7 separate regions of the Homo sapiens genome follow, and regions 2, 3, 4, 5, 6 and 7 are each linked to region 1. The links are contacts of gene promoters, found by promoter capture Hi-C in blood cells and fetal thymus (Javierre and others, 2016). All regions are on one chromosome and are shown on one strand. Each heading gives the region's core, a stretch centred on a gene start or on the middle of the fragment in contact. The rest is flanking DNA. Distances are from core to core; before and after follow the strand shown.

Evidence for each region. The method cuts DNA at HindIII sites, captures the fragments that hold promoters and counts their contacts. A CHiCAGO score of 5 or more calls a contact.
Region 2: a fragment that was not itself captured here is called in contact with the fragment with the promoter of MBD4 in region 1 in 4 of 17 cell types (M2 macrophages, neutrophils, M0 macrophages and 1 more); the score reaches 9.6 in M2 macrophages.
Region 3: a fragment that was not itself captured here is called in contact with the fragment with the promoter of MBD4 in region 1 in 1 of 17 cell types (M0 macrophages); the score reaches 6.6 in M0 macrophages.
Region 4: a contact is called between a fragment that was not itself captured here and the fragment with the promoter of MBD4 in region 1, in 1 of 17 cell types (total B cells). The highest score is 5.3, in total B cells.
Region 5: a contact is called between a fragment that was not itself captured here and the fragment with the promoter of MBD4 in region 1, in 2 of 17 cell types (M2 macrophages and M0 macrophages). The highest score is 7.4, in M2 macrophages.
Region 6: a fragment that was not itself captured here is called in contact with the fragment with the promoter of MBD4 in region 1 in 1 of 17 cell types (neutrophils); the score reaches 5.4 in neutrophils.
Region 7: a fragment that was not itself captured here is called in contact with the fragment with the promoter of MBD4 in region 1 in 5 of 17 cell types (M2 macrophages, M0 macrophages, M1 macrophages and 2 more); the score reaches 15.3 in M2 macrophages.

Annotation. Positions count from the first base shown.
Region 1 is chr3:129,438,367-129,441,469 of GRCh38, reverse strand. MBD4 (methyl-CpG binding domain 4, DNA glycosylase) reads left to right here and starts at 1,522. Exons shown (of 8, transcript NM_001276270.2): 1 at 1,522-1,740. The coding sequence starts at 1,637. It overlaps IFT122 (intraflagellar transport 122), which reads right to left and starts at 1,246. Exons shown (of 30, transcript NM_052989.3): 1 at 1,099-1,246. The coding sequence starts at 1,139. RefSeq lists enhancers at 243-292, 693-742, 773-822, 973-1,182, 1,383-1,522 and 1 more. The HindIII fragment of the contact is 2,558 bases long and covers 789-3,103 here.
Region 2 is chr3:129,923,753-129,927,010 of GRCh38, reverse strand. No RefSeq gene overlaps it. Among named protein-coding and RNA genes, the nearest start is that of TMCC1-DT, 32 kb to the right of the region's middle. The HindIII fragment of the contact is 4,695 bases long and covers 1-3,258 here.
Region 3 is chr3:129,812,639-129,815,569 of GRCh38, reverse strand. The region is part of intron 4 of TMCC1 (transmembrane and coiled-coil domain family 1); the gene reads left to right. Among named protein-coding and RNA genes, the nearest start is that of TMCC1, 80 kb to the left of the region's middle. The HindIII fragment of the contact is 3,105 bases long and covers 1-2,908 here.
Region 4 is chr3:129,014,329-129,017,502 of GRCh38, reverse strand. The region is part of intron 2 of EFCC1 (EF-hand and coiled-coil domain containing 1); the gene reads right to left. It also overlaps a transcript of CFAP92 not described here. Among named protein-coding and RNA genes, the nearest start is that of EFCC1, 15 kb to the right of the region's middle. RefSeq lists a silencer at 237-396 and enhancers at 1-499, 1,177-1,226, 1,247-1,356, 1,070-1,577. The HindIII fragment of the contact is 2,409 bases long and covers 314-2,722 here.
Region 5 is chr3:129,872,594-129,875,560 of GRCh38, reverse strand. All of the region lies in intron 2 of TMCC1 (transmembrane and coiled-coil domain family 1), which reads left to right. Among named protein-coding and RNA genes, the nearest start is that of TMCC1, 20 kb to the left of the region's middle. The HindIII fragment of the contact is 9,223 bases long and covers 1-2,967 here.
Region 6 is chr3:128,991,575-128,994,442 of GRCh38, reverse strand. It overlaps CFAP92 (cilia and flagella associated protein 92 (putative)), which reads left to right and starts at 367. Exons shown (of 16, transcript NM_001394090.1): 1 at 367-463; 2 at 1,107-1,400. The coding sequence starts at 1,139. RefSeq lists a silencer at 152-361 and an enhancer at 938-1,699. The HindIII fragment of the contact is 3,206 bases long and covers 1-2,868 here.
Region 7 is chr3:129,839,178-129,842,053 of GRCh38, reverse strand. The region is part of intron 2 of TMCC1 (transmembrane and coiled-coil domain family 1); the gene reads left to right. Among named protein-coding and RNA genes, the nearest start is that of TMCC1, 53 kb to the left of the region's middle. The HindIII fragment of the contact is 2,949 bases long and covers 1-2,876 here.

The DNA.
Region 1 (3,103 bases), core at 273-2,772:
TTATAGTACCTACCTTAGAGAGTGGTGAAGACACAACGAGATAAAGGATATGAAGTGCTTAGCCAGCACCTGGCACATAGTGTCAGCTACCACTAGTGCCGAACACAAAAGAGAGGACCCGTCTCCAACGTGAGCCTTGAAGGATGTTCAGGATTTCCGTGTGAGATGAGGAGAGACGGCATGCTTTACACAGAGAAAGATCTCAGAAGGGACAGAACCAAAGACAAGTAACCTGCTCCAGTGGCCAGAACAGAGGCTTCACAACAATGCTGAATGATTTTCAAAGTCAGGCCAAGACCTATCCCATAAGTAAGAATATGACAAAACAGACTGCTATGTTATAGATTTAGGCGATAACAATGGAATAGGACATTAAATAACTGAATCAAAAGGTGACAAAGTCATTCCCCTTCAGTTCTTTTTCAGACTTCCCAATTAGGAGAGCTTGTGTTTGGTGCTCATTTTGAGCACCTTTCTGATCATACCTGCCCATCTCCAGTTTTAGAGAAACGAGATCTCAGGTTTAAAGGCTCCCTAGCAACAATAGCTAGCTACAGCTTGTTCAGTTTTGTTTCTCCCTACTTTAAGTTTTACTTTTACACTTAGAGCAAGCGACGCTGATTTTATCTTAACATTTAGAGCAAGTGACACTGGTTTTCATAAATGGAGTAATAAAGTTTCCTTGTAAAATGTGAAATCATAATTAAAATAAATGAGACAATTTAGAGAAAAACGTCAAGAAAACAAGAGTATGGGTACTATGTGGATGTGGCAAGAACTGTGAAGCTTGAGCAGCTTCGTGCTGTCTCGTGGGTGTGAGATGAATCCAAGGCAGCGACAGGGCCAGACCGTGAGGGAAGAGCCGCCTCCACCCGCCACCACCTCAGGCGCGGCACCTCCCTTTGCCGCTCTCCAACCCTCGGGAGTTTCTCCAACCGCCAAGGGGCGGGAGGGCGACCCTGCAGTCTCCCAGGCCGGGGTTCAGTGCCCTCGGCCCAGGCAGCAAGCCCGCTGCCCCCCTCAAACACGCTGCAGCGGCTCGCGCACTCCCCGCGAGGACTCGACCTCCTGCTCTTCGCGAACCGCCCCGCTCCTCACCAGTGCTCGGCTTTATCTCTCCACGTCAACACGGCCCTCATCACGGCTTCCCTTACGGCTCGGGCTCCTCCTACCCGCCTCAGCGTCTGTCTCAGCAACCGCCTCACTAACGGTCGCCACTCCACAAGCCACTTTGGCTACCTGCGTTACCCCTGGCAACGTACATGCGCGGTAAGCTGAGTGCGAGGGCGCCTTGCTCCGAGCGCGCATGTCCGAAAGGGAAAGCCAGAAAAGCAGCAAAAGCAATGGTGGCACTGGAGCCCCTAAGGCGCCAGCGCAACCAGAGCGCGAGCGATTGGTCGGGGCGTGTGGGGGCGGTGCGTCTTCCTCGAGAATGGATTTGATTGGTGGAGCGTGGAAATGGCGGCTGTAGCCGAGGGGGCGGCCGGAAAGCAGCGGCGGCGTCTGGGGCGCTTTCGCAACATTCAGACCTCGGTTGCAGCCCGGTGCCGTGAGCTGAAGAGGTTTCACATCTTACTCCGCCCCACACCCTGGGCGTTGCGGCGCTGGGCTCGTTGCTGCAGCCGGACCCTGCTCGATGGGCACGACTGGGCTGGAGAGTCTGAGTCTGGGGGACCGCGGAGCTGCCCCCACCGTCACCTCTAGTGAGCGCCTAGTCCCAGACCCGCCGAATGACCTCCGGTAAGTTACTGTCCCCTTTTGGGCCTCAGTTTCACCACCTGTAAAATGGTATCGGGAGAGTGGACAGTGTGTGGGCCTTTCTAACCTTTGACAGAGGGTCGGCAGAAACCTCGAAGCCCACGGGTTTAGTTACTAGGGTCTGGAGCCCAGGTGCTCTTCCTGTGCGATCAGCCCTGGGGTGCGCTCGACTTCCTCATCTAAGATGACTAGGGAGACTGGGGGGGAGCCGGGAGGTTTTGTGAAAGAGGTCCCCTTGGGGTTGGAGGATCCTAGGAAGTCATTAGACTACGTGTGTGATAGGAGGTTAAGATTTACCTACTTTTTTCAAAATTTAATACTAAGAACTACTTTGAAAGAGGCATCACCTTCTTTTTACAGAGTCTTTTACCGAGACTTTGAGATGTTAAGTAACTTGCTGCTAAACTTACAGCTGGTAGAGCTGGAATTTGAGCCCCAGTCTCTTAAGAGTTTGTGCTGATTCCACCAGGCTTCAGTATTTTTATCTCTAAAATTGTAAACAATATCATTTCATAAGATCCATCCAGCTCCTCAAAATTATTTTACCCCAAATTACATCAGAAAACCTTGATTCTAATTCTAGTTCTTGCAGTTTCCCTATTTGTAGAAAAGAACTTGGGTTAAATGATCTCTCTAGACCCATCCACCTTTTACAATCTGTGGTTTAGTGATTAGGATACACTTTACTGAAATTTTTTTTTTAATTTTAAAAGTATGTTTTCATCATAGAAGACACATTGGAACTTTAATGAAGTTTTAGTTTAGTGGGTTTTTTTTTGAGATGAGGTCTCGCTCTGTCACCCAGGCTGGAGTGCAGTGGCACAATCATAGCTCCCTGAAGCCTTGACCTGCCGGACTTAAGCAGTCCTCCTACCCCGGCCTCCTTAGTAGCTGGGACCACAGGTATGCTCCACCACGCCCGGTTGCTTGTTTTTTTTTGTTTTTTTGGGTTTTTTTTTTCATTTTTTGCAAAGACGAGGATCTCACTGTGCTCTCCAGGCTGGTCTCAAACTCTTGGGATCAGGTGATCTTCCCACTTCCTCCTCCCAAAGTGCTAGCATTACAGGAATGAGCCACCTTGCCTTGCCAGCTTTTTTCAATAACAGTATGGGGGAGAAGTATTAGACCAAGATTTGGTAGACTTGGGTTCTCGTGTCTGTTCTGCAAGTAATTTAACCTGTCACTCAATTTTATCAATAAATTGAGAGTAAACCTTATTGTACCTACAAGGTTACCATGAGGATCAAGAATGAAGAAGATTCAAAAATTCTGTATCAAATTATTTACCTTCTGGAGGATTACATCTGATGAAAGTGATACACACTCTCTCCCAGAAATTTTACAT
Region 2 (3,258 bases), core at 169-2,668, 490 kb before region 1:
CAAAAGAAGAGAGTCCAGAGCCCGCAGCTTCTACCCGCAAGCCACCTCTCCAGTCTGCTCCCTGTCCAGACACACACAGAGCCCCCCGCCAAATTCAGTGGCACAAACTGTTCCCCATTTTTTTGCACACGTAAATGTGTGTGTGTATGTGCTGGTGTTTATAACAGGGTGTTACACTGGAACTACTAAGTCACCAAGGTGAAATAGATAAGACACCCAGACCAAGATGCAAATGTTCAAAGGAAATAAACAACAGTCGTTTTATTTTTAGACGGACTCTCGCCCTGTCACCCAGGCTGGGGTGCAATGGCGCGATCTCGGCTTACTGCAACCTCTGCCTTCCAGGTTCAAGTGATTCTCCTGCCTCAGCCTCCTAAGTAGCTGAGATTACAGGCGCGTGCCACCACGTCTGGCTAATTTTTTTTCTTTTTTTTGTATTTTTAATAGAGATGGGGATTCACCATGTTGGTCTTAAACTCCTGACCTCGTGATCCGCCCGCCTTGGCTTCCCAAAGTGCTGGGATTACAGGTGTGAGCCACCGCACCTGGCCAACAAAAGCCATTTGTAAGACCCTAAAACATCTCACCTGCATTGAGGTTATATAATGATCTAGTTGTTGGAGATCAGAGGAATTAGTGAGGAGGACTTTGGAGAGCGGGTCTTTCAATCTCCCCACCCCAGCCCTACCCCACCGAGGGGCAGAGCTGAGGATGCCTCTACCTGAGCCAGTTGAGGGCACTGAAGCAGGACCATTGGAAAGCTGCATCTGGGCTCCTTGCAGGATGGAGGAGCTGGGCCTGTCTCTGACTCCCACCTCAGCAAACTGAAAGACAGGAGAAAAAGGAGCCTCGGAGAGGCGGTTGAGCAGGCAGCTTCAGTCCCCTAATGATCTCCAAGGTGATCAGAGCTAGAACATGTGAAGATTTTCTGTAGATCAGATGTGGGCCCCTGCAGGAGCTGGCCTGATCATGCCCCAGGGGACGATCTGGAGCAATGTTCATGCCAACTCGGTGGGAAGGGAAAAAATAGGAGCCGAGAAGAGAGCCACCAGCGGGAGGTGAGTGTGTCCCCCACAGCAAAAGGCAGGATGAGAGGCTCTCAGCTGGGAGTGGGGATGTCTCCAGAATCCATGAAAGCAGCCGGGGAGATTATAAGATGGATCACCTTGACACATAGGTCAGCACAAAACCACCCTGGACCCATATCACTCAAGTAAAAAATCTCCAGCTCGCTGAGAGCTCCTCCCTCCCTTGCCCCCTCCCCGCCCCATGCCAGGGGTTAGAAACTACCTTAGAAAGATTGAGGGCAGGGGAGACTTTATGATGGAGACAGAGAAAAAGAGATCCACCCGTACTCTAGTAAACTTTAAGTTGGAAATTTGGCTGTTCCCAGACTGGACATTCTAAGACTATATTTAAAAACCTAAAATGAATATAAAACTTAAAAAAAAAACCTAGTGAATTAGGGTTCTCTAGAGAAGCAGAATCAATAGGATATGAATATTTAGAGGAAGAGGTTTATTGTGAGAAACTTGTTCATGCAATTATGGTGGCTGGAGACCTAGGAGAGCTGATGGTGTCCTTCCAGTCCAAAGGCCATCTTCTGTAGAACCAGAAGGAGCCAATGTTGCAGGTGAAGTCTGAAGGCCACCTGCTGGAGAATTCTCTCTTGTTAGAGAAGGGGTTGCATAGGCTGGTCTTTTAAGGCCACTCAAGCCTTCAACTGATTTGGTGAGGCTCACTCACATCGTGGTGGGCAATGTGCTTCACTCAAAGTCTGCTGATTTAAATGTTAATCCCATTCAAAAAACACCCACACTGTCCAGGCGTGGTGGCTCATGCCTGTAATCGCAGCACTTTGGGAGGCCAAGGCCGGCAGATCATTTGAGGTCAGAGGTTTGAGACCAGCCTGGCCAACATGGTGAAACCCCATCTCTACTAAAGATACAAAAATTATCTGGGCGTGGTGGTGGACGCCTGTAGTCCCAGCTACTTGGGAAGCTGAGGCAGGAGAATCACTTGAACCCAAGAAGTGGAGGTTGCAGTGAGCCAAGATCGTGCCACTGTGCTCCAGTGTGGGCGACAGAGTGAGACTCTGTCTCAAAAAATAATAATAATAAAAAAGGAGATAGACATGGAAGTCAGGTGTGGCAAGCAAACATGTAGACCTGGGCTGTGGGACCCTCGGAAGGGATGTGGGGCCAAGCTCTTGGAGGGCCTGAGGAATCAGCCCAAGGAGCTCTGGCTTTCAGTAGCTACTCTTGTGTGTAGCAGAGCAGGCTGGAGTAGAGTGAAGGGAGCCTGGGGTAAGGAAATAAATCAGGAGTCAAGAAGTAATGATGCTAATGCTGCTGGCTGGGTGCGGTGGCTCACACATTTAATCCTGGCACTTTGGGAGACTGAGCAGGCGGACCCCTTTGAGTTCAGGAGTTCAAGACCACCCCAGGCAGCATGGTGAAACCTCGTCTCTATAAAAAATTAGCTGGGTGTGGTGGTTCACACCTGTAGTCCTAGCTACTTGGGAGGCTGAGGTGGGAGGATGGTTGGAACCTGGGAAGTGGAGGTTGCAGTGAGCCAAGATTACACCACTGCACTCCAGCCTGGGTGACAGAGCAAGACTCTGTCTTTAAAAAAAAAAAAAAAAAAGCATTTTTCTAAACTCAAATATCTAATAAATCATAATGAAAATTAGATAATACTAATAAATGATTAAAAGTATGCAAATTAAAAATTGTGAGATGCCACACAAAGCATCGAGAGCAATCTGTAGCTTTATTTACATTAGAAAAGCAGAAAAGATGAAAATGAAGCTAATACCCAGCATATGTTAGAAAATATAATGAGAATAAACTCAAATAACATAAATGGAAGGATAAACAGGTAAATGAATGAAACAGAAAATAAAGATAATGATAGAGAGAAGTAACAGAGCTAACAGTTGGTTCTTTGAGAAAAGTATCATATACAAATCTTCAATGAGACTAAGAAAAAAATCATAAAAACTCATATTTGAAATTAACAGGAAGACATAACTATAGAGGTAGAAAATATTTTAAAAGATAATAGTGCATATTGTGAAAAACTGATGCCAATATATTTGAAAATGTGTACCAAGTAGACAATACCCTAAAAATATAACTTTAAGAAATTGATTTATGAGGAAATGGAAATCCTAAGTAGCTCAATAGCTACTATATAAATTTGATCAATAGTTAAGAAGTGCCTCTGTGCCTCTGTCTCTCTGTGTCTCTGACACAC
Region 3 (2,931 bases), core at 107-2,606, 370 kb before region 1:
AGGGGTGTAGTTCCATTCTGCAGGTGGTTGTCCATTTTCCCCAGCACCATTTATTAAAGAGACTGTTCTTACCCCATTGTATGTTCTTGGTGCCTTTGTTGAAAATGGGTTGGCTATAAATGTGTTGATTTATATCTGGGTTTTCCATTCTGTTCCATTGGTCTGTGTGTTTTTATGCCAGTACTGTGCTAATATGTTTACTATTGCTTTATAGTATGTTTTGAAGTCAGGTAGTGTGATACCTCCCATTTTGTTCTTTTTGCTCAGGATTGCTTTGGCTATTCAGTGTCTTCTGTGGTTCCATATAAATTTAAGAGTTTTTCCTGTTGCTGTGAATGTTACTTATTTCTAGCTTTATTCCATTGTGGTCAGAAAAGTTAATATGATTTATTTTTTTTTAATCGTTGAGATTTGTTTAAGATATGGTCTCTTCTGGAGAATGTTCCCTTGTGGTGATGAAAAGAATGAGTATTCTGCAGCAATTGGGTGAAGTGTTCTATAAATGTCAGGTCTATTAAGTATGGTGTCTACTTTAACTTTTGTGTCTCTGTTGATTTTCTGTCTGGATGATCTGTCCATTATTGAGAATGAGGTGCTGACTTTCTCTACTAGTATTGTATTACAGTCTATCAGTCTATCTCTCCCTTTAGATCTACTAATGTTTGCCTCATGTACTTGGGAGCTCTGATGTTGGGTACATAGATACTTATAATTGTTACATCGGCTTCCTGAATTAACCAGTTTATCTTTATATAGTGACCTACTTTGTCTCTTCCTATAGTCTTCGATTTGTAATCTATTTTATATGATGTAAGTATAGCTACTTCTACTCTTTTTTGTTTTCCAGTTGCATAGACTATATTTTCCCCACCCCTTCACTTTCAGTCTATGTGTATCTTTGTAGGAGAAGTGGGTTCCTTGTAGGCAGCATATAGTTGGGTCTTATTTCTTTGTCCATTCAGCCACTTTATGCCTTTTAATTGGAGAATTGAGTCCATTTACATTCAGTGTTATTTTTGATAAGTAAGGGCTTAATACTGCCATTTTATTGCATATTCTGGTTGTTTTGTAACTCCTCTTTTCATCCCTTTTTTACTATTGTCTTTGTGGTTAAGTGATTTTCTCTGGTAGTATGTTAATTCATTGCTTTTTATTTTTAGTGAATCTGTTATAGGTTTTTGTATTTTGGTTACCATGAGGCTTACAACAAACATAACAAGTTATTTTAAAGAGATGGCAACTTATGTTAGATCACAAAGAAAAGATTAGAAACAAAGATTCTGCCACTTTAAATAGGAATTCACAGGATGAATACTTAAAATTAAAACACTGCAGGAAAATTAGCCTGTGAGTGAAGATCTGGTTCAGGAGTACACTGGGAAATTGTCTGGCATCTTATCTAAACCTTACGCTCAGGTCTTCTCCTAATGTCTTTAGAAATTTCATGGTTTCTGATTGTCAAGCCATTTCCACATAGGAAATGCAAGCCTATAACTCAACTCTTTGGGAGAATAAATGTATAAATAGTTATTCCAACAGTGGACTTTTATCACTTACCCTGCTTTATTATACAAAAAAAAAAAATAAGGAAAAAGAACTTAAGGACAAGTTTAGAATGGATGAACAATTAAAGTGTTTATTATCACAGATGACTTAGTAAATACATTTTCAAATTGTTAAATTTCCTTTAACATATATAAGTACTATTTCCTTAAGAATAATCTCTTCTTCAGTAGAAATGGAATAGCTTCATCTTTTTTTTTTTTAACTTTTATTTTAGGTTCAGGAGTGCATGGGTAGGTTTGTTAAATAGGTAAACTGCATGTTGCGGGGGTTTGTTGTACAAATTATTTCATTACCCAGGTAATAAGCATAGTACCCAATAGGTAGTTTTTCGATCCTCACCCTCCTCCCACTCTCCACCCTCAAGTAGGCCCTGGTGTCTGTTGTTCCCTTCTTTGTGTCCATACTAAATGTTTAACTCCCTCTTGTTAAGTGAGAACATGAGGTATATGGTTTTCTGTTCCTGTGTTAGTTTGTGTAGGATAATGGCCTCCAGCTCCGTAAGGACATGATCTCATTATTTTTTTATTGCTGTGTAGTATTCTGTGGTGTACATGTACCACATTTTCTTTATCCAGTCTACCATTGATGGGCATTTAGGATGATTCCATGTCTTTGCTATTGTGAATAGTGCTGCAGTGAACATACATGTGCATGTGTCTTTGTGGAATAATTATTTATATTCCTTTGGGAAAATACATAATAGGATTGCTGGGTTAAATGGTAATTCTGTTTTAAGTTATTTGAGAAATCGCCAGACTGCTTTCCATAATGGCTGGACTAATTTACATTCCTACTGGCAGTGTGTAAGTGTTCTCTTTTCTCCACAACCTCACCAGCATCTGTTATTTTTTGACTTTTTAATAATAGACATTCTGACTGGTGTGAGATGGTATCTTATTGTGGTTTAGATTTGCATTTCTCTAATGATTAGTGATGTTGAGTATTTTTTCATAAGCCTGTTGCTGCATGCATGTTATCTTTTGAAAAGTGTTCGTTCATGTCGTTTGCCCACTTTTTAATGAGGGTTGTCTGATTTAAGTTCCTTATAGATTCTGAATATTAGACCTTTATCTGATGTATAGTTTGCAAGTATTTTCAAGTATTTTCTCCCCTTCTGTAGGCTGTTTACTCTTTGATAGTTTCTTCTGTTGTGCAGAAGCTCTTTAGTTTCATTGGGTCCCATTTGTTTATTTTTGGTTTTGTTGCAATCGCTTTTGGCATCTTTGTTATGAAGTCTTTGCCAGGTCCTATGTCCAGATGGTATTTCCTAGGTTATCTTCAAAGGTTTTTATAGTTTTTCATTTTAGATTTAAGTCTTAAATATGCCTCATCTTTTTAAGCTTAAAATTATCTCACCTTAAAAAC
Region 4 (3,174 bases), core at 269-2,768, 420 kb after region 1:
GCTTTCCCAGGGGGTCCAGACCCGGCCAAGGGTGCCTTGCTTTCGGCCTTGTGCGAGCTTGTGCAGAGAAGCCCGCCACGCCCGCCTGGACTTCCGGCCTACGGAATTATGAGGTCACAGGTGGGTGTTGTTTCAAGTCACTAAGAGTGTGGTGATCGGCTATGGTTGTGATAGAAACCAAATTCAGCCATCCAAACAACCACACCCCATCTGCTGTCAGCTCAACCCCGACTGTGGCCTTGTGCTCCCAGAGAGACTTGACTGGCCTGAGCCAATCATGAAGCCGCCTTCACGAAGCCTCAATCATGAAGCTTCCTTCAGATTGGTTTAGAAACAGGCATGTGATGCAATTCTGGCCAAAGAGAGGTGAGGGGAAGTCTGCCAGGAGGACCCGTGGATATGGCAGTGATGCCTGAGGCCATGGCAGCTCTCTTGCAACCATGAGGGGTCCTTGCTGACAGGCCAAAATGACAAGCTGAGGAAAACAGAGTGGAAGATGAATCAGGTCCTTGAAAACTTTACTGAACTGCCAAGGAACTGCTCTCCCCTGGACTTCTCACATGAGATAATAAATGTCCTTGTGGTTTAAGCCATTCTGAGTTGGGTTTTATGTTCTTGCAGCATAAAGCATCATCACTGATAAACCACTCACAGCACTGCTTGGGAGTGCAATAAGGTTGTACAGATAAAGTCCTTAGTGCAGTGCCTAACACCCAGTGAGTGCTCAAAAATGTTAGCTTTTGTTCCTTAATCAGTTCCGCCCCCTCCTGCCTCAGGCCCTGTACGAGTCAGGGTTTGACCAGAGAAGTGGGGCCAGTGTGTGGAATCCATCTACAGCCATGCCTGCAGCTGTAGCTCTGTCTCCAGGGCTTTATGACAAGCAGGTGGCCTGTGTGATCACGGGGGCTGGCTAAATGAGTCTGGAATCCACAGAAGGGAAGCTGGCAGGCAGGTGGAGCTCACGGGCACGGCTTATGGGCTTCCCCAGAGGCTCTAGACACGGGCGTGCCCATGAGCTCCACCTGCCTGCCAGCTTCCCTTTTGTGGACTTCAGGCTTGCTTAGCCAGCCCCCACAATCACACAGCCCACTTCCTTGTCATAAAGTCCTTCAGAAAGAGCTACAGCTTGTAGGCCTGGCTGTAGATGGATTCCACACCCTTCTGTCCACAGGTGGAACTTCTCTTTCACACAGAAGCCTGTTTGGCTCTTGAAGCCCACCCAGACCAGCCAGGATAATGTCCCTTACCTAAAGTCAACTGATGACAGACTTTAATCCATATGCAGAATACCTGTACAGCAACTGTAGCTTAGTGTTTGACCGGTTAACTTGCTGTAACCAAGGGAGCGGTCAAGGCATCACATCAAAGCCAGGGGGACGCATCAAAAGCCCATTACACCGCCTGGGCTCAGTTTATTCTGGAATAGATGAAAAATGTCACTGCTGTCTTTTTCTCTCTGCTTCCTATGCTCTGAGCCGCTCAGTGACTCAGCAAGTCTCAGGAAGCTGCAGAGCTGACAGGTCCCTCAGAACCCAGCCAGGCTACTTTGGGCCATCAGGCCACGGCCACGCTGCAGCACCTACTCTGGGAGGTCCTGGAGGTTCGCACACAGCGGCTTCCTTTGCTGCATGGCGTTTCCTGAGTGAAGCAGCCTTACAGGAAACAGAGAGCAACATGTGAAAACAAGAGAACAACAGCAGGAAGAACAGCTTGGGGTAGGGGGGCGGGATGCAGCAGAGGAAGGGCGGAAAATAAATCACAAGGGGTGGGGGGACAGTCCTCAGGGGTCCTCTGTGACTCCTCTCTGGTCCCTACCTGAATTCGGGAACCCCCCCAACTTTACTGAGCAGGGGATGGCGGTGGGAAGGGTGCAACAGGAGTGTGCGAGCAGACACGGACACTCAGCTCTCGGGGGCGCCGTGCAGGGTGTCAGCCTGGGCTGGGTGACTTCTAAGGCCCTGCCAGCCCAAGCTGCTGACTTGGTTCTTTAATTCACCGAAGGATGAAGTATTGAGCCAGCCACTGTCCTTAGCAATGGCATGGCCCCTGACCTCACAGAGCTTACCCCGCAACCTCCCCCCCCGAAGGAGCAGACCTCAATGAAGTCATCACAAAAATACATGAAGGACAGAAAAGTCCAGGGGCCGTGAAAGACGTTAGGAAGAGGCTGTAGATGGAGGTGGGGCCTCCCTAAAGAGTTGGGGTCTGGCAAGACCTGAAGGGTGAATGTGGATTGGTCAGGAGTAGGCTTGGGGATGGTGGAGGGAGCCGTATGCCCAAAGGGCCTGAGAAGGGGAGCCCTGGAGGGTCAGTGTGGCTGCAGGAGAGGATGGGAAAGGGCCTGGTCACTCACAGTCATGATGGTCACCAGAGGAGGTCACAGGAGAGTTGTGAGTGGGCGAGCCCGAGGTGGGATCTGGGTGTTGAAAAGATTAACCTGATGCTGTGTGGTCCGTGGTTCTGATGGAGCTGGGACACCAGTCAGGAGGCTAGGACAGCTGTCCAGGAGTGGTGCTGGGGCTGGGCTGGGTGGTGGGTGCGACTGGAGAGTAGCAGGTGGGTCTGAGCCACTTGGAGCTGAGACTTAGCAGGACTCCGTGTGTACAGGTGAGGAGGGCTCTTCACCTGCTCCTCCTCACTGGCCCCTCCTCACTGGCCCCTCGGCATCCAGGCTGGCTCCAACCTGCTCGTCCCCGTGCAGGCAGTGCAGACAAGCCAAGCTTGTGCCCAGCCCTGTGATTTTGCTATGGGAGTCACCTCCGCCCTGGATCACACAAGTCATGGCCCCACCTTGCCACTCAGGCCTCAATTCCAGGGTCACATCTCAGAGAAGTCTCCTGTGATGGGCTGGTTGTGTCTCCCCAATTCATATGTTGATGTCCAGACCCCCAGAGCTCCTCATAATGTGATCTTATTTGGCGATGGGACCTTTAATGAGGTAATCAAGTTAAAATGAGGTCTTTAGGGTGGGCCCTAATCCAGTCTGACTGGTGTCCTTCTAAGAAGAGGGGATTAGGACAGAAATACACACAGAAGGAAGACCACGCGAGGATACAGGGAGAAGGCGGCCCTGGCTGCCAGCCCAGGAGAGAGGCCGCAGGAGAAGCCAACGCTGCGACACCGCACTCTGGTCAGCCTCCACAGCTGTGGGAGACAAATGCCTGTTGTTGAAGC
Region 5 (2,967 bases), core at 13-2,512, 430 kb before region 1:
TCTCACACTGGTATGAGTAATCTTTTTTGGGTGTGTTTGTGTTGTTTTTTTTTTTTTTTTTTTTTTTTTTGAGATGGAGTCCTCCTCTGTCCCCTAGGCTGAAGTGCAGTGGTGCGATCTTGGCTGACTGCAACCTCTGCCTCCAGGGTTCAAGCGATTCTCCTGCCTCAGCTGCCAAGTAGCTGGGATTACAGGCGCCGGCTACCTCACCCAGCTAATTCTTTTTCGTATTTTTAGTAGAGACAGGGTTTCGCCATGTTGGCCAGGCTGGTTTCGAACTCCTGACCTTAGGTGATCACCTGCCTCAGCCTCCCACAGTGCTGGGATTACAGGTGTGAGCCACCGCACCTGGCCATTTTTTTTTTTTTTAAATAGCAATGGAATCTTGCTGTATTGCTCAGGCTAGATGAACTACTGGGCTCAAGTGATCCGCCTACCTTAGATCCTGAGTAGCTGCGACTACAGATGTGCCACCATGCCTGCTTCTGGTATTGGTCATCTTAATGCAGTGTGGGCATATGGAAAACCCAGAGAAGGTTGTTATGAGCTGATTTTCCTTTCCGACAACTTAAGACAGTACTCAAATATTGTGGAGAATAAGGAAAACAGAGTTAAGTAATTATCTGACAGACTTTGATTATGAAGAGAAAGGTTCAAATATATGAAGTTTATTTTCTACTTTTCATTTTATTTTATTTATTTTTTTAGAGATAGGGTCTTGCTCTTGCTCAGCTGGAGTGCAGTGGTGCAATCATAGCTCACTGCAACTTCAAACTGCTGGGCTCAAGCCATCCTCCCACCTCACCCTCCCAAGTAGCTAGGACTACAGGTGTGCGCCACCATACCCAGCTAATTTTTGTATTTTTTGTAGAGATGGGGTCTTGCTATGTTGCCCAGGCTGGTCTTGAACTCCTAGTCTCAAGCAGTCATTCCACCTCAGCCTTGCAAAGTGTTGGGATTATGGACATGAGCCACTGCACCTGCCCTGTATGTTTTATTTATTTAATTTGTTTTTTGCAGAGATAGGGTGTTGCTATGTTGACAACGCTGATCTTGAACTCCTGGGCTTAAGCAGTCCTCCCACCTCAGCCTCTCAAAGTGCTGGGATTACAGGTGTGAACCACTGCGCTCAGTTCTAGCCGCTATTTTTTAGATTCTTAGATGCCGTAAGTGGCAGCTTGTGGAATTGATTCCATAGTAAATTGAGTCAGAAGACATTTGAGAATCTATTATAGGCAAGGCATTATGCCAGGTGCTGGTAGGCAAACAATAATTTTTAGGTACTTTGTAGAAATAACAGCTTTGAGTCACTTTGAGAATTCTCTTATGTGTAATATGAGTCTAAAAGAAGTTTTTAACATTTTTATTTCAAACTCATTTTGAATAGGAATATGCAGATGTTGAAACCATAGAAATGAAAGTCTCACTTTAATCCCTGATTCCTGGTCCTTACTTCTCCTCCTTAGTAACAACCATTTTTACCTCTTTTTGTGTCTCCTTCCAGATATTTTATGTACATATTTGTGTATATATGTACATATATATTTATATTACCTTTAAAAAACTCAAATAGAGGTCTACTGTTCAAACAGTTCTATACCTTGCTTTTTTCCCTCATACAATATAGTTTGAGCATCCCAAATTTGAAAATCCAAAATCTGAAATCTTTTGGGTACCAACATAACACTCAAAGAAATGCTGCTTGGATTTGGGATGCTTGCCTGGTAGGTATAATGCAAATATTTCAAAATGTGAAAAAATCTGAAATCTAAAACACTTCTGGTTCCAAGCATTTTGGACCAGGGATTAACCGTATGCTACTTATAGCCCATGTCATTAAAAAACAGTATTTTTAAACTTATTATTTTTATTTTTTAGAGACATGGTGGCACTCTGTCACCTATGCTGGTGTGTAGTGGTGCGTGTGATCGTAGCTAACTGCAGCCTTGACCTCCTGGGCTCAAGGGATCCTCTTGCCTTATCCTCCCGACTAGCTGGGACTAGAGGCGTGCACCACCACGCCTGGGTAGTTTAAAAAATTTTTCGAGACAGGGTCTTGCTATGTTGCCCAGGTTGATCTCAGACTCCTGGCCTTAAGCAATCCTCCCATTTCCACCTCCCAAAGTGCTGGGATTATGAGTGTGAGTCACCACACCTGGCCAACTTGTGTCCGTTTTTTTTTTTTTTCAGCTGCATAGTGTTTCATGTTATGTATTTCCTGTGATTTTTTTTCTTTTGGGTTTTTCGTATGTCCACACTGCATTAAGACAACCAGTGTTAGTCTTGAGACCACTAACAAGTCTTATCCCCAATCTGTGTCATTTCCACTAGAATTAAAGCTCCATTAATTTCCAAGGATAGGCTGGGCGCGGTGGCTCATGCCTGTTATCCCAGCACTTTGGGAGACTGAGGTGGATGGATCACCTGAGATCAGGAGTTTGAGACCAGCCTGGCCAACATGGCAAAACCCCATCTCTACTAAAAATACAAAAACTAGCCAAGCGTGGTGGGGGGTGCCTGTAATCCCAGCTGCTCGGGAGGCTTGAACCCGGGAAGTGGAGGTTGCAGTGAGCCGAGATTGTGCCACTGCACTCCTGCCTGGGCAACAGAGCAAGACTCCGGATCTCAAAAAAAAAAAAAAAAATTCCATGCGTAGACAAAATATATATCATTAGGATACATTCAATTGTAAATAATGGAAGTAATAATTTAAAAAACCCCAGGAAATCTAATAGTGACTTAAGCTGTAAAAATATTTTATTGTCTTATATAAACAGAAGCAACGAGATAGGTAATTCAGCACTAGTTTGGTAGCTCAGCAATATTTAGGACCCACATTTTTCCCCTCACCTTTATTTTCCTCATTATGTTGGCTTTTCAGCCTCCCTGTGTCACCTTTTGGTTGCATCATGGCGCCTCATCTCCAACCAGCACAACCAACTGCATTCAAAAACAGGATATGGAGGG
Region 6 (2,868 bases), core at 175-2,674, 450 kb after region 1:
AGTTTGCAGAGCCCACAGCTTCCTTTGCTTTTATTAAAGAATGGGAGGTGGGAGCTGATGGAGGGGGAGGAAGGAGCCATCAACCCCTACCTCCCATCGTACGGGCAAGGACCAGGCTTATAGTAGGTGCTGACGTTCCGAGTAGAAACTCCTTAATGAGTGAATGCATGAGTGAAGGAATGAAGGCAGCTGGTTTCTGAACCTGGATGTAGCCATTTGACAAACTGCGCGCAGTGGCTGAGGGGGAAAGCCCCGCCCCGCGGAGCCCCGCCCCCAGGCCGCACGCCCTCGCGTCTCCTAGCAACCGCCAAACGTAGCTGAGTGGCTGGGCCTGCGGCCCTCCCTGCACCGGCGGACGCTCCTCTCAGTCTTGGAGTCTCTTCGCCCAGGTGGCTGTGGATCCGGTACGGGAGTTGCCGCCGCGGTCCAACTCCCCGCTGCCGCCCAGCGCATCCGCTCGCAGGTACCGCCAGCACCTGGAGGGGAACCCCGACCCCTGCCCCCACCTCGGCCGCCGCAGCCCGGGACTCTTCCCGCCTCGCCTCGATGCGTGTTCCCTCTTCGGCGTTTGCCCGGCGTTCCGCCTCCATGGGCCTGAGCTGATGCCCCGAGCCCAGCACCCAGTGCACATTCATGTTCTGTCTTGGGGACAGGGCTTGCCCTCCCCGACCTCGCCAGGCTCCTGCACGTGCTGCCCCCGGCCTGGTTTGCCTCTCCCCAAATAGCAAACGCATCTTGTGCTTAGGCGCAGCAGGCCTGCCTGAGCAGACGTCCCCTCTCCCGCCTGGTGGCTCCCGGGAGCTGCTCACCTGGGGCAGGCATTCCAGAAGCCCGGCGACTGACTCCTGGTTAGGCGAAGGAAACGGGGTTGCTCGTCGTCGTGCTTACTGCCAGCCACCCTTATCTGTTGTTCCTTCATCCATTCATTCTCTAAGTCGATTGAGTACCGACTGTGTGGCAGGCAGTGAAGGAGCCCCGGCGTTCATCTAGGAGCAGGCGGGGGAAGCAGGGAAGAGAAGGGTGGGTGCTTCTGCAGGAGGCCGGGCTTACCTCCTGGAGCAGCCCTGGAATACAGGCGGGGACAGCCTTCACTTTCTCCCTGCCAGGAGCGCCGGCGGCCAGCAGTGCGCTCTGCAGCATGTCGCTACATGCCTGGGAGTGGGAAGAGGACCCCGCAAGCATAGAGCCCATCTCCTCCATCACTAGCTTTTACCAGTCCACGAGCGAGTGTGACGTGGAGGAACACCTGAAGGCCAAGGCCAGGGCCCAGGAGTCTGACTCTGACCGCCCGTGCAGCAGCATCGAGTCCTCATCTGAGCCTGCCAGCACTTTCAGCTCCGACGTGCCCCACGTGGTCCCCTGCAAATTCACCATCTCACTGGCCTTCCCTGTGAATATGGGTAGGTGCTAGAGCAGAAGTTTAACACCCTCTGAAAAAAGGAGGTGCATGACTTTCTGCAGGAGTTTAGGGCGCATACACCCCACATCCTCTCTCCACCTGCCCCACCCCAAAGCGGGCTGGCCAGTGCCAGCCAGGAGCAGAGGTTGAAAAGAAACAGCAATTTTAGGAGAGGCCCAACTGTGGCTGCATCAGCTTCACATACTTAATCCTCTCAACAACCCTAAAGCAGGTGATGTTCTGTCTGCTTTTTACAGAAGAAAAAAAAACCATGGAGAGGTTAAGGCATTGATTCTCATAAGCGCTTGTGCATCACCTAATACCTTGTTTAAAATACATTTTCCGGGAGTCTGAGGCAGGAGAGTCTCTTGAACCCCGGAGGTGGAGGTTGTGGTGAGCAGAGATCACGCCATTGCACTCCAGCCTGGGCAACAAGAGCAAAACTCTGTCAAAAAAAAAAAAAATAATAATTCTTTTTTTATTGAGATGGAGTCTTGCTCTGTCACCAGGCTGGAGTGCAGTGGTGCGATCTCAGCTCACTGCAACCTCAGCCTTCCGGGTTCAAGCAATTCTCGTGCCTCAGCCTCCCAAGTAGCTGGGATTACAGGTGCACGCCACCACACCCATCTAATTTTTGTATTTTTAGTAGAGACTGGGTTTCACCATGTTGGCCAGAATGGTCTCGAACCCCTGACCTCAGGTCATCCTCCTGCCTCAGCCTCCCAAAGTGCTGGGATTACAGGCATGAGCCACCGCACCCGGCCAAAAAATACATTTTCTCTGATCTGTTGAATCAATCTCTGAATGTAAAGGTGTATCAATTAGCTATTGCCACAAAAATGCGGTGCAACAAACCCAAACAAGCCCCCAAGCTCATGGCTGCACACAGGAACCTGAGGTTCTCCTGGAGGTGCTGGGCGCTGGTCTAGGCTGGGTTCTGCAACAGCTCAGCTCTGCTTCATGCTGCTCCTTTTCCTCCTGGACCAGTGGGCTATCCTAGACCCCTTCTTGTTCTAGAAACACGGACACACAGGAGGGCAAGCCTAGCCCCACAAACACTCCTCAAGTCTTTGAGTGTCTCCCACCTGCTAGCATTTTATTGGCCAAACCAAGTCACATGGTTCCAGCCCAATATGAGGGGAGGAGACAAGTAGTACTTCACATCTTGATAGACCTTGCTTTGTTTTGTTTTCATCTGCTTACTTGAACTAGCCCACCATTATGATTTCAACTTCTCCTGGTATTCTGTCGATGGTGTAAGTTTCTTGTATGGGTTGGAACCCCGAGAGCGCACCAACAGACAACACGAGGCGGTGTGGAGCAACATGCTGTTTCAATGAACGCCTTGGTGCAGGCCGGCTGAGGCCTAAAATGGCGTCAGCCCCAAGTGAGGACGGGGCAAAGGTTTTATAGTCTCCTGTAAACAGGAAGTGTCCTAGTCTGGCGTAACTGCTACGCTGTACCCGGAT
Region 7 (2,876 bases), core at 216-2,715, 400 kb before region 1:
GTACATACACATTTAGAATTGTTATGTCTTCTTAGGAACTGACCCTATTATAATACCCCTTGTATTAGTTTGTTTTCACAATGCTATAAAGAACTACCTGAGACTGGGTAATCTATAAAGAAAAGAGGTTTAATTGACTCACAGTGCCGCATGGCTGGGGAGGCCTCAGGAAACTTATAATCATGGCAGAAGGGAAAGTAAGTCACGTCTTACATGGTGGCAGGAGTGGGGGCAGAACTGCCACACACTGTAAAACCATCAGATCTTGTGAGAACTCACTATCACAAGAACAGCAGCTTGAATTTCTCCCCCAGAAAATGGGTTTTTCTTTTCTACTACATGGTAAGGCTGCAAATTTTCCAAACTTTTATGCTCTGCTTCCCTTTTAAACATAAGTTCCAATTTCAGACTATCTCTTTGTGAACACATATGACATACAATGAACATTTTCATTATTATTATTATTATTTTGAGAGGGAGTCTCACTCTGTTGCCCAGGCTGGAGTGCAATGACACGATCTTGGCTCACTGCAACCTCTGCCTCCCAGTTCAAGTGATTCTCCTGCCTCAGCCTCCCAAGCTGGGACTACAGGTGTATGCCACCATGCCCAGCTAATTTTTGTATTTTTAGTGGAAACGGAGTTTCACCATATTGGCCAGATTGGTCTCGAACTTCTGACGTCAGGTGATCCACCTGCCTTGGCCTCCCAAAGTGCCGGGATTACAGGCATGAGCCACTGTCCCCGGCTGACAGTACGCTTTCAGAAAAAGCCAGGTCACATCTTGAATGCTTTGCTGCTTAGAAATTTCTCCTGCCAGATACTCTAAATCATGTCTTTCAAGTTCAAAGTTCCGCAGATCTCTAGGGCAGGGACAAAATGCCACCAGTCTGTTTGCTAAGGCATAGCAAGAGTGACCTTTGCTCCAGTTCACAATAAGTTTCTCATCTCCATCTTGGGCCACTTCAGCCTGGATTCATTGTCCATATCACAATCAGCACTTTGGTAAAAATCTTCTAACAAGTCTCTAGGAAGTTCCAAACTTTCCCACATCTTCCTGCCTTCTTCTGAGCCCTCCAAACTTTTCCAGCCTCTGTCTGTTACCCAGTTCCAAAGTCACTCCACATTTTCTGGTATCTATAGTAGTACCCCATTCCTGGTACCAATTTTCTGGGTTAGTCCATTTTCACACTGCTATAAAAAACTACCTGAGACTGGGTAGTTTATAAAGAAAAGAGGTTTAATTTGACTCTCAGCCCCACATGGCTGGGAAGGCCTCAGGAAACTTAAAATCATCGCAGAAGGTGAAGGGGAAGAAAGGCATGTCTTACATGGCAGCAGGAGTGGGGTGGGGAACTGTCACATACTTTTAAACAATCAGATTTCATGAGAACTCATTATCACAAGAACAGGGGGAAACCACCCCCGTGATCCAGTCGCCTCCCACCAAGTCCCTCCCTTGACATGTGTGGATTACAATTCAAGATGAGATTTGGGTAGGGACACAGAGCCAAACCAGATCACTCCTCTTTATCCTTGACAATCTTTCTTGTTCTGAAATCTACTTTGTCTGCAATTCATTTGGCTACAGTAGCTTTCTTTTGATTAATTAGTGTTTGTATGGTATATTTTTCTCCATTGTTTTATTTTTTTCCTCTTTAAATCTTTGCTTAGCAGGCTTCTTGTGGACCGAATATAGCTTGATCTTGCTTTTTTTTTTTTTTTTTTGAGACAGGTTCTCACTCTGTCACCCTGGTTGGAGTACAGTAGCATGATCATGGCTCATTGCAGCCTTGACCTCCTGGGTTCAATCAATCCTCCCACCTCAATGTCCTAAGTAGCTGGACTTACAGGCATATGCCACCATGCCCAGCTATATTTTGTATTTTTGTAGAGAAAGGGTTTCACCATGTTGCCCAGGGTAGTCTTGGGCTCCTGGGCTCAAGCGATCCTTCTGCCTCAGCCTCCCAAAGTGCTGGGATTACAGGTGTGAGCCATTACACCCGGCCTGGTCTTGCTTTTTTTTTTCTCCCCCAGTCTGACAATCTGTTTTTTAACTGGTAAGACTATTTACATTTAAAGTGATTATTAGTATAATTAGATGAAAACCTACCATCTTGCTAGCTCTTCTCTATTTGTTGCATTTGTTGTTTGTTTCTTTTTTTATTTTTTGAGACAAGGTCTCTCTCTCACCCAGGCTGGAGTACAGTGGCATAATTATGGTTCACTGTAGCCTGGACCTCCTGGGCTCAAGTGATTCTCTCACCTCGGTCTCCCCAGTAGCTGGTACTACAGGTGCACACCACCATGCCTGGTGAATTTTTAAATTTTTCGTAGATATGGGGTCTCACTATGTTGCCCAGGCTGGTCTCAAACTCTTGGGCTCAAGCGATCCTCCTACCTCTTGAGTAGCTGGGACTATAGGTGTGTGCCACCATGCCTAGCTAATTTTTCTATTTTTTTGTAGAGAAGAGGTCTTGCCGTGTTGCCTAGGCTGGTCTTAAACTTCTGAACTGAAATAATTCTGCTGCCTCAGCCTCCTGAGTAGCTGGGACTATAGGCATGCGCCTGTGTGGTTTTTTTCCTACTGCCTTCTTTGGTGTGATTTTTTTTTTAATTCCATTTTACTTTATTGACTTATCACTTAGATTTCTTTAAAAAGGTTTTTAGTGGTTGCTTTTTTGTTTACATTATACATTTTAAAATAACCTGAGTTTTTCAGGTGTTTTGCCACTTCGCATTTAGTTAAAGTATGGTTATAGTGTGTTCCCAGTTCTTCCCTCTTTTCCCTTTTGCCATTGTTGTTAAGCGTTTTACTTTTACCTGTGGGGTACTTATCCAATACATTGTTACTGCTTTAAGCAATTATCTTTTAGA